Regions from separate parts of the Homo sapiens genome. Here region 1 is linked to region 2. The links are contacts of gene promoters, found by promoter capture Hi-C in human tissues and cell types (Jung and others, 2019). All regions are on one chromosome and are shown on one strand. The core of a region is centred on a gene start or on the middle of the fragment in contact, and the rest is flanking DNA. Distances in the headings are between cores, read along the strand shown. Region 1 has its middle 57 kb from the start of FOXL1. Region 2 holds the start of FOXL1 (forkhead box L1).

Region 1 (4,359 bases), core at 516-3,015, 58 kb before region 2:
TGTGGGATGCAAATTGGAGAAACCAAACAAGCTGGCTTAAAGATAAAAGGGGGAAGTTATCAGAAAGGTCTGGTGGTGTCTTATGGAACCTGGAGTCACAGGGTGCAGGGAATCAGAATTAGCAGCTAGAAGGAGTTAGGAAAGCCAGGCTGCATTCTCTCCAAACCTTGTGTCTCTGTCTTTTCAGTGTTTTCCTTCTCTCTCTCTCTCTCTCTCTCTCCCTCCCCAGAGCTCATGGTCCCAGTGGCAGGACGTCCGTTATGCAGGTCCAGCAGTATGGAGTTGCTCCTGCTCCTGCCCCTCCACATCCCCAGGGAACAGATGCTTCTGGCAGGTTGGTGTTGGATGAACATGAAGTCCTGGCCCAGCAAACCATGAAGCTGAGCTGAGGTGAGCCTGGCAAAGCCCAGAAGCTGTACGTGTTCCCTGGCTCCTCTTTTCCATGCATTTGCTTGGGCAGCGACTCTTTGGAGTCACTGTCACTCCTCAGTGTCCCCATTAGTGCAGGGGCTATGGCCAAGTTGCTCAGAGCTTCCTGGGTTGTGTCTGTGAAGAGCCTGCTGCCTGTCGGGTGTTGGTCCCAGAGGTCTGAGCTGGGGTGGGTGGGGTCCATGGGCCATGGCTGCTCCTCAGGGATCCTGCAGATGCTGAGTGGATGGCATCCCCTGGCAGAGGTCACACTGAGAGGAGGTGACAGGGGAGCCTCTCCACCTGGAGTCACAGGCTGCAGGAAAGAGGAGCACACTTCACAATATAAAGCCACCCCCACTGCAACTTGGGCCCAGAAAGCCTGCCAAAACCAGGGATGCTGCTCCAGGTCCTGTTACATCCACTCTGCAGAAAAGACACATTCCTCAGTGGATTGACTGCCCCAGGAGCACAGGGACCTGGCAGTTCTGGTAAGTGCCACCTTGCTGATCCAGAGCCCTCATCCTCAGGCTTTGCTCTCCATCCATTTGGAAAGCAAATCCACTCTAGGCACTGCCACCAGAGGGATTGAATACAGGGATTTGGTTGCACTGGGGATGGAAGAGCTAGGGGCCATGGAGGGACCTGTGAGGCAGTCAAGATACTGGCAAGAGCAGCAAGTCCAAGGCAGGCTATTCCTCTGGCCCAGAGCCAGGTGGGCTGCCCAGCAAAGGCAGGACAGGGAGGTTATCCCCAGGGAGCTGGAAGCACAGAGGAGACTCAGAGGGAACGAGGAGGTGTAGGTAGCTGCTCTTCCATGTGCCACCCTACCTCCTGTTGACCCAGTGCTTCCCATGAGTGAGACCTGGGCAGGAGCCAGTATGCAGGGGACACTGGCAGTGTTTTCAGAGAAGAGCAGGGCCTGGGTCTGAGGACAATCCCATGTTCTGCCCCACCCCCAGCTAAAGGAGGAGAAGTTACCTTCCTCCAGACGGGCCCACCTCCTTCGCCTACACCTCCCTTCCCTCTTCCTTTCTCAGAAGGGCCGCCTGAGGACCCTAAGCCTCCTTCTGCCCCTCCCTCTTCTTCAAGGCAGCTGGCAACCTCCCTCTCTATAAAAAAGAAGGGGAAATGCATGAACACGTGGAACGTGATAAAATACGCTGTTTATTTCCATGTGATTAGTCTGATCATTTCCTACTAAACCACTCCTTTCTTCCATAAAGTTCAGCCTCGTCTCAGAAAGATGAACAAGAGTACTTTACGCTGTATAAAAATCTGTATAGTAATCCCACAACCCCTAGATCATGATGCAGTGGCCGAGCCTGTGCCAGAAATGGACCACCAAGCCCCCCAGAACGCGTGGGCGAGCGTGCAATCATGCGGCACAGCTGGCGGGCCACAGTGTGGCTCTGCCACAAGCTCCATTTCCCATCCTTCCAGAGCCGCCACGGCCTCCTTTTTGCATAGTTTGAAAGTTGGCTTCCCTGGATGGGGTTCAGACATCTATACATTTTTATCAGCACTTAAAAAATGGAAGTTAAAAGTCTAATGGGATTGCTGAGTAGAGATTGAACGGTTCCAGGGGAGGAAGTAATACAGGATAAAAAGGGGGTGTTCAGTTTCAAAGGCTTGTGATAGAAAGTTGGAGAAAGCTTGTATAGAAAGCACTTGTCCTCAGAGTGCCAGATTTTATTATGGATATCTGGTCAGAAAAAGAAATGAACACGTCAAGTAGAAAAAGAAATTCGGGTGACCAAGGACTTTCATCATGGGAGGAAATATTTAACTAAGTGCATTATTCATTTTGCATTGACTTAAGTGCCAGGGGCCTTAGCTCATAGTGGGGGGCTGGCAGGAACGCACAGGCTCGGCTCAGCTCTGCACTTACACGTTTTTTCTCTTTTGTAATCTCGGTTAAAGAGTTCTGCTTCTTTGGGGTCTTTTGGCTGAGAGCAAATACTCCGTCTTCTCTGGGGAAACTCTGCCTTTGCTTGACAGAAAAATGGAAATGGTAACCTAATAGAGCCTGCTTTTCTCTGGTTACCAGGATTTTAGTGTGCCTTTAATCTCCATTGAATTACCAAGTCCCCTGGGATTGGGTGGGCGGTCTTTGAGTCAGTGAAAACTTCACAGTGGTTTTGGCAGGCCTGCTATTTCTTGCCTCTCCATTGCGGACCCTGTGAGTGAGCCATTCTTGAAATCAGACAAAAAAGCCTCACTTTTGCTTTCTGACAGTGACATACAACAGTGACTTCTCTTTCCTATTTGATGTGTTTCAAAATGCAGTAGTTACTGCAAACTATTTCCCTAATTGATCTGGAATGCAGACTAATTCCTGTGCCTTGAATTCGCCCATGCGTCTCAAATTTGAAAATGGTTTCATACGTTTAAGACCAGCCTTACTAGGACTGCAATTTAATTTTGTTTAACAAGCAGACCCAAAAAAGAAAAAAAAAAAAAAAAAGCGGAGGAAGATGACAAACTCTAACCAGGTTGTAAATGTTGACGAAAAATCCCACAAACATCTTGGTAATGATCATTGGAAAGATAACAAAACTGGAAGTGTTTTCTGAGATACTGCCTGCCAGGCCCCATGCTAAGTATCTTCCATACTGAATGCATTGGCTTTTCCGAAAATCTAGGTGAGGTGGGCATCAACGCTCAAAAATAAGTTCACAGAGATGCACAGAAGTGATGTAGCTTGTTCAGGCTTACACAGACAATAAGAGGTTGACCTAGGACAAAGTTCTCTTTGTTTGAGATTCACTAAAATCTGATTCACTTGTGAATATACAATTTATGGCTATATCTAGAGATGCTGTTTAATGCAGTGCTGATGACACAGCTTGGATTCAAGGACCACCATACCAAATGCTTCTAGCTGAGTGGAAAGTAAGAAACAGCACCCAATTTCTTCTTCCCACTTATCCATCACAAAGTCCTGTTCCTTGGCTTAATTCTGATGCTGAATGCATCATTTCCATTCATATCCCATTGGCCAGCAATTCATCACATGACCACATATAGCCACACAGGAGGCTGGGAAATGTAGTCCTTAGCTGGGCAGCTGTGTACCCAGCTAAGACATTAGGATTCTACTACTAAAGGAAAGGGCAAAGTGGATACTGGGTAACAATGAAGTATGTTCGCTACACCCTTACTCACCACTGTGTACCTCCCTCTATCCCAGCCTCTAGTCTTTAAGCCTTGAATGAATAAACTCGCCTGTCAAAAGTTGCCAACCTGTGGTAAAAACCCCACCACTATTCCAAGCTCCTGCTTGTTCCAACATTAGATGTAGACATTCTCTTATCAGCATAGGTCAGGCAAATGTTAGTTTCCCCATTTACAATTGAGGGTTGGAATCTCATGCTCCCCTATTTCCTTACTAACAGGGCCCCAATTTTGTCTTGAGTCATGACATAGCATCATTCCTCTCTACAGAAGAATTCTAAGTCATATATGTCAATACTCTCCCTCAAGGAAGTGGAGCTTAATCTCTCCTTTGAGGGTGAACTAAACTTAATGGGTTGCTTCCAAAGAACAGAGTGTGGACAGAGAATGACAGGAGCATTGCAGAGGAGAAATCTGGCATACAATACGGTAACCAAGTGACCGAGTTTGACATCGGCAGTGATAGGTCATGGGGATATCACGTACCCCCAATATGATGCTATGAGACACGTACTTCATCTCTGTGGTCTTCTTCCTCAAAGCCCCTAACTGTAGTCTAATCAAGAGAAAAACATCAGGAGAGCCCAAGTTGAGGGACATTCTACAGAACACCTGACCAGTCCTCTTTGAAACTGTCAAGGTCACGAATAAACGAGGAAGTCTGAGACATTCTCATGGCCAGGGGAGCCTAAGGAGCCGAGATGATTCCACAGGCCCATGACTGTGACGTTAGCCACGCAGTGTAAATAATGAGGTGTGACAATGGCCACTCAC
Region 2 (4,706 bases), core at 542-3,041:
ACATCTCTCAGAAAACCTGAAAACCCGGGGTCACCCCCGGCACCTCCACAACTTCAAGTCAGGAACAAACCCAGCTGTGACCACCCACCACCCAGATGGGCTCAAAACCAAGGCCTGAGCCACACGGCAACAGCGAAGCAGGCGACGGTCATACGGGGGTCCCCGGTCGAAAGGACCTCAACTGCACCTGTAAGGCCTGCCTTGGGTGGTCTGCGGGCCCTTGCATGCCCGGGACTCGCAGGACCTGCGGTGGGCGGCTGAAGACCACACTCCATTAGACAGGTCAAACGTCAAGGAATCTCCCGCGGTGGAGGTCCCTGCAGGGCCCACGTGCGGTGCCCACGACCCCGCGGGGATCTTTTAAGTCTCCGTAGCTGCTCCCAGTTGCTGGGAAAAGTTTGCTTCGGAGAAGGCAGGCGAGCGCGCCCACCTGCGCGCAATGGTTGGTAACACTTCCCTGAACCCACAGGCCGACCCAGGCAAAGATCATTTTAAAATCCTCCGCCGGTGGGAGCTGTGGCCTTTCGCTCAGCGGAGGCTCAGGCTGGGCCGGGAGAAGAACCGTGCCATTGTTTGCTTTACTGGAAGTGGAGTACCGTGTCGGGAACCTGCAGGGGGAAATAAGAGAGGAAGGGGATCCCGAGCTGGTAAAAGCCGCCCTGGACATGCGGGTCGAGCATCAGGGAAGCGTTGAAAGGCGGACGGAGGCTGGAGGAGGCGGCCAGGAGCGAGGCACCCAGACGGCCGCCGGGCCCAGGCTTGGCACCCCCTAGGAGTTCGTCCCCTGAAGGCGGCTTCTGGCCCTGCTTTCCCGCCAGGATGCTGTCTATGCTGAAGCTCTTGGACTTGTCGGAGCTCTTCGGAGAGCTGCGGGAGGCGGGGCGCAGAGGGGACCCCGGGCCGTCCCCTGTGCGCGCTGCCTGGCCGACCGCCACGGCCGCTGCGCCCTGGGCAGCGTCACCAGCGTCCTCGTTCGGGGACGCGGTCCCCGGCCAGTGGAGGGGCGCCGGCGGAGAGGGGCCGTCCAGGAGGGGCGAGGGGCCCGCGGGCGCTGCCTGCAGGCGGGAGATTGCGGGGCCCGAGCCCCCTGCCCCGCTCCCCGCCTCCGGCTGCGCCTCCGCGCTGCGCTGGTGCGTCTCGGCGCGGGGCCTCTTGGCCTCCGGGGCCCCGGGGCCCGGCTTGGGCTTCCTCTTCCGGCGCCGGTAGTTGCCGTTCTCAAACATGTCCAGGCAGCGGGGGTCCAGCGTCCAGTAGCTGCCCTTGCCCGGCCGCCCTTTCTCGCGGGGCACCTTGACGAAGCAGTCGTTGAGCGAGAGGTTGTGGCGGATGCTGTTCTGCCAGCCCTGCCGGTTGTCGTGGTAGAAGGGGAAGCGGTCCATGATGAACTGGTAGATGCCGTTGAGCGTGACCCTCTGCTCGGGCGCGTCCTGGATCGCCATGGCGATGAGCGCGATGTAGCTGTAGGGAGGCTTCTGCGGGGTCTCGGCCCGGCCCGAGGCAGCTAGAGCAGCCGCGGGGGCGAAGGCCAGAGGGAGGCCGGGTCTCTCGGGACCGTACAGATACAGCATGGGCGAGGCGGCCAGGGCAGGCAGCCGGGGATCGAAGAGGTGACTCATGGCAAGCGAGAGCCTGCGCTGCGCTCCCCGCAACGCAGGAGACCCGGGCGGCCTAGGCACTGCGCCCCGCGCCGCAAGGGCCCTCCCGGGGAGCCAGCCGTGCCTCTGCCTCTGGCTCTGCCGCTCTCCCCGGCCGCTCCGTGCTCTGTCCCTTCTTCATGGCTTTAAAAATGTTAAATAATTGTTGTAAGTTTGCTGTTATATGTTGACTTAGCCCTGGAAAATAAATTGTCTATGATAAACAGTCCTTGTGTTCTCAGCCCACCCACATTAATTAAAATTTCATTGCTGAAAAACTCCAAGCTTTTCCCTCCACGTGTCTTTTTGATACCAGCCAATCGGTTTTGGGGCTATTCCTTCATTTGTTTATAGAATTAGTCTGTTGATAAGTCCGCCCACCCAAGTTGAATCAAGCTGTGTTTATTTGGAAAAATTTCCGGGCACCCAATATATAAACGCACTGATCTGATGTTTGAAATATCACGTCCACCCCTTGACGCTGTAAGCACACACAGTCAGTGAGGCAGGATGTAGACTGCGGTGGCTCAGAGCAGGGTCTGCTGAGCCAGGAAGGAGAGGTGGAGATGGGGGTGGGTGTGCAGGGATGAGTTTTACGCTGGCCTGGGGGAGCCCCATAACGCCAGGGCCTCCCACAAAAGGTCTTTTCTTCTCCCAGGCTTAACCGGAGATATCGAGATGCCACAGTCTAGTAAAACACTTTCTGAGGTCCTAGGAACCTTTTAGATTGGGGCAGGGAGAGTATCTAAGAAGCCTGAGTGTCTGCTGAGAAGGGGATGCGGCCCTCCCTGGAAAAACAGGTGGCAGACCCAGTAGGAGGTGGCACTCTCTAGGGACCTGCTCTCCCACACCCTCCCTTCCAGGGCTCTCCGGAAATCGGAGGGAAAGTGGACTCTGGGAGCCCAGTCTCTCTGGAAGGGAAGGCCTAAGGCACTGGGGGCCTGGGGAAGAGCTCATGGTCCACAGCTCCATTGAGGAAGGTTTCAAAATAAACCCATTTAGAGAACCGGGGGCAAAAGTAAGGTCCTCCTGATGGGGCCAAGGTTGCAAGAGAGGAACACCATAAAAGGAGGCCGTGGCAGCTGGCGCGGGAGGCCTGGTATTTGTGAATGTGGGTCTCCAGCTTTATATTCTGGGCTTTCCTGTTTATAACAAGGAGGGGGTTATAACAACTTTACAAGTGCATGCAGCTGGCCCGTGATTACATTAGGCATTTGGGAAGCCTGCTTGCTCTCCCTGTATCCACCCACCCTGGGGTGTACGCGGCCCTCCACCCCCATCTCATTTTACATTTTCCCACATCACTGTTTGAATAAAAAATCCTGAATCATGCTGATTTCGAAGGGGGCCTCTCCTCCCCACTCCACCGGTTAGGGTAAGGGTAGAGGCACCTAGTGTGACTACTTCCTGTTTATGACCACCCCCTGAATATTAAAACACACACACACTGTCACACACACACCCACACACACACACACACATTCGGATAACTGGCGTCTCATTGAGCAAATCGTGTGAGCATGTCAAAGAGATGAGGGAAGGGGGAGGATGGCAGGTGGGTGTAGAAATGGCCCACTGCCAGTGGGCCAGGAAGGAGGGAGAGGCACCGAGGGCACTTACAGGGGTAGGGGGAGTGTCTGCCGCTGCCACACCCGGCTGAGGATGTGAGTGCCCAGGTAGCCTCTGAACACGGAAACGTGGCGGGCATCCTTTTTCAAAATGAGAAAATCAGAAATAACCCGTGTGTTTGGGGTTCCTGGGTATCCAGCCCATGGAATAAGTAGACCGCAGGGGAGCGGGTAAATTTAAAATACCAAAAAGGAAGTCGCAGGAAGGGTGGAAAAACCGGCCTGGGTACCGGCACTGCCTGCGGGAGCGACAGGCCAGTCCCTGGGACACCTCGGGCCTCCCTCCGCGGCCCTGCTCCTCTAACGTGGGTCCAGCGAGCAGCCCGGCCGCGCCCGCCTAGGTCCTGGGGGTGAACCTCTGGCCAGGAGGGGCGAGGCTTTGTCTTTTCGTTACCACTCGCTCTCACCCGCGTACCCCTTTCAAACTTGGGGTGAAGAAACCTCAATGCCAGCGCCTTTGCAACCCGCAGGCCCCACAGTCTCTGGGGTCACCCAACCTCTCCGGGGCCGCGCGCCCCCAGCAAGCTCAAGTTTGGATCCAGTTCCTTCTCCAGCCTCGGCGCTCGCTCCAACACACCCAGACCGAGAGATAAACCGGTGTCACTATGCAACCCTTTCCCCACCTTCCTATCCCACAGCCCCTCCTGGAGCTCCCCACGCGGCACCCGAAGTCCAGCACGCACATCCCTGCCTCTACCGAAACTCCCGCCGTCCCGGCGCGTCTTCTAAACTCTAAGGCAAATCCGAGCTTGAATTTGTACGGTGATAAATACTGCCCGATTTGGTAATGGGCGGGACGTGGGCGGAGACACGGGAGGCTGGTGGGCGGGGCACCGATAGTAAAGCAAAAAAAAAAAAAAAAAAAAGAGAGCGAGAAAGAGACAGAGAGAGATTAGGAGAGAGAGAGAAAAACCAAAAAACAAAAAACAAATGCCCACGCTCTAGTCGCGGTTTGGAGACGCACACCCAGCCCCGCGCGTTTGCAGAAGTGTGCAAAGTCTCCGGGAGGTTTCAGCTGTAGAACTCCGGCTTTGCGCCCCAGCCCCGCTCCAGAGCGGGTTTGAATCCCGGGCTCCCGGGTGATTGATGAGTTTGTAACCTGAGCCTAGGAGGGGCCTCTGTTAGAAGGAACCCCGCGCTGGGGCAATTTCCATATTTCCGGGGAGTGCAGGCTCAAGCCCTAGGAGTCCGAGAGCGGATGCGCCCTCGTGCGGAGGCTCTGTTGGCTGAGGCCAGAGCGAAGGGCCTGCGGGGGGCAGCCGAGCTGGGAGACGGCCGGGCGGGCCTCTAGAACGAGTGTCCTAGAGAGCCAGATGGGGACACTGAATGTTCCCTGTAGATTCATAAGCCTCGGATCCCAGAAAAGCGCGTCATCTGAGAAGTCACTTGGTGAGGGCTCACCTCCCAGCCTGCAAGAAAAGCCTGAGATCTCTGGCCTGCCCGG

What was found. Contacts are between HindIII fragments. The study calls those that stand out against the background at their distance.
Region 1: a fragment that was not itself captured here is called in contact with the fragment with the promoter of FOXL1 in region 2 in 1 of the 25 tissues and cell types used here (IMR-90 fibroblasts).

Annotation. Positions count from the first base shown.
Region 1 is chr16:86,633,553-86,637,911 of GRCh38, reverse strand. No RefSeq gene overlaps it. Among named protein-coding and RNA genes, the nearest start is that of FOXL1, 57 kb to the right of the region's middle. The HindIII fragment of the contact is 7,055 bases long and covers 1-4,359 here.
Region 2 is chr16:86,575,634-86,580,339 of GRCh38, reverse strand. FOXL1 (forkhead box L1) reads right to left here and starts at 1,791. Exons shown (of 1, transcript NM_005250.3): 1 at 1-1,791. The coding sequence starts at 1,616. The coding sequence ends at 579. RefSeq lists an enhancer at 310-931. The HindIII fragment of the contact is 9,412 bases long and covers 1-4,706 here.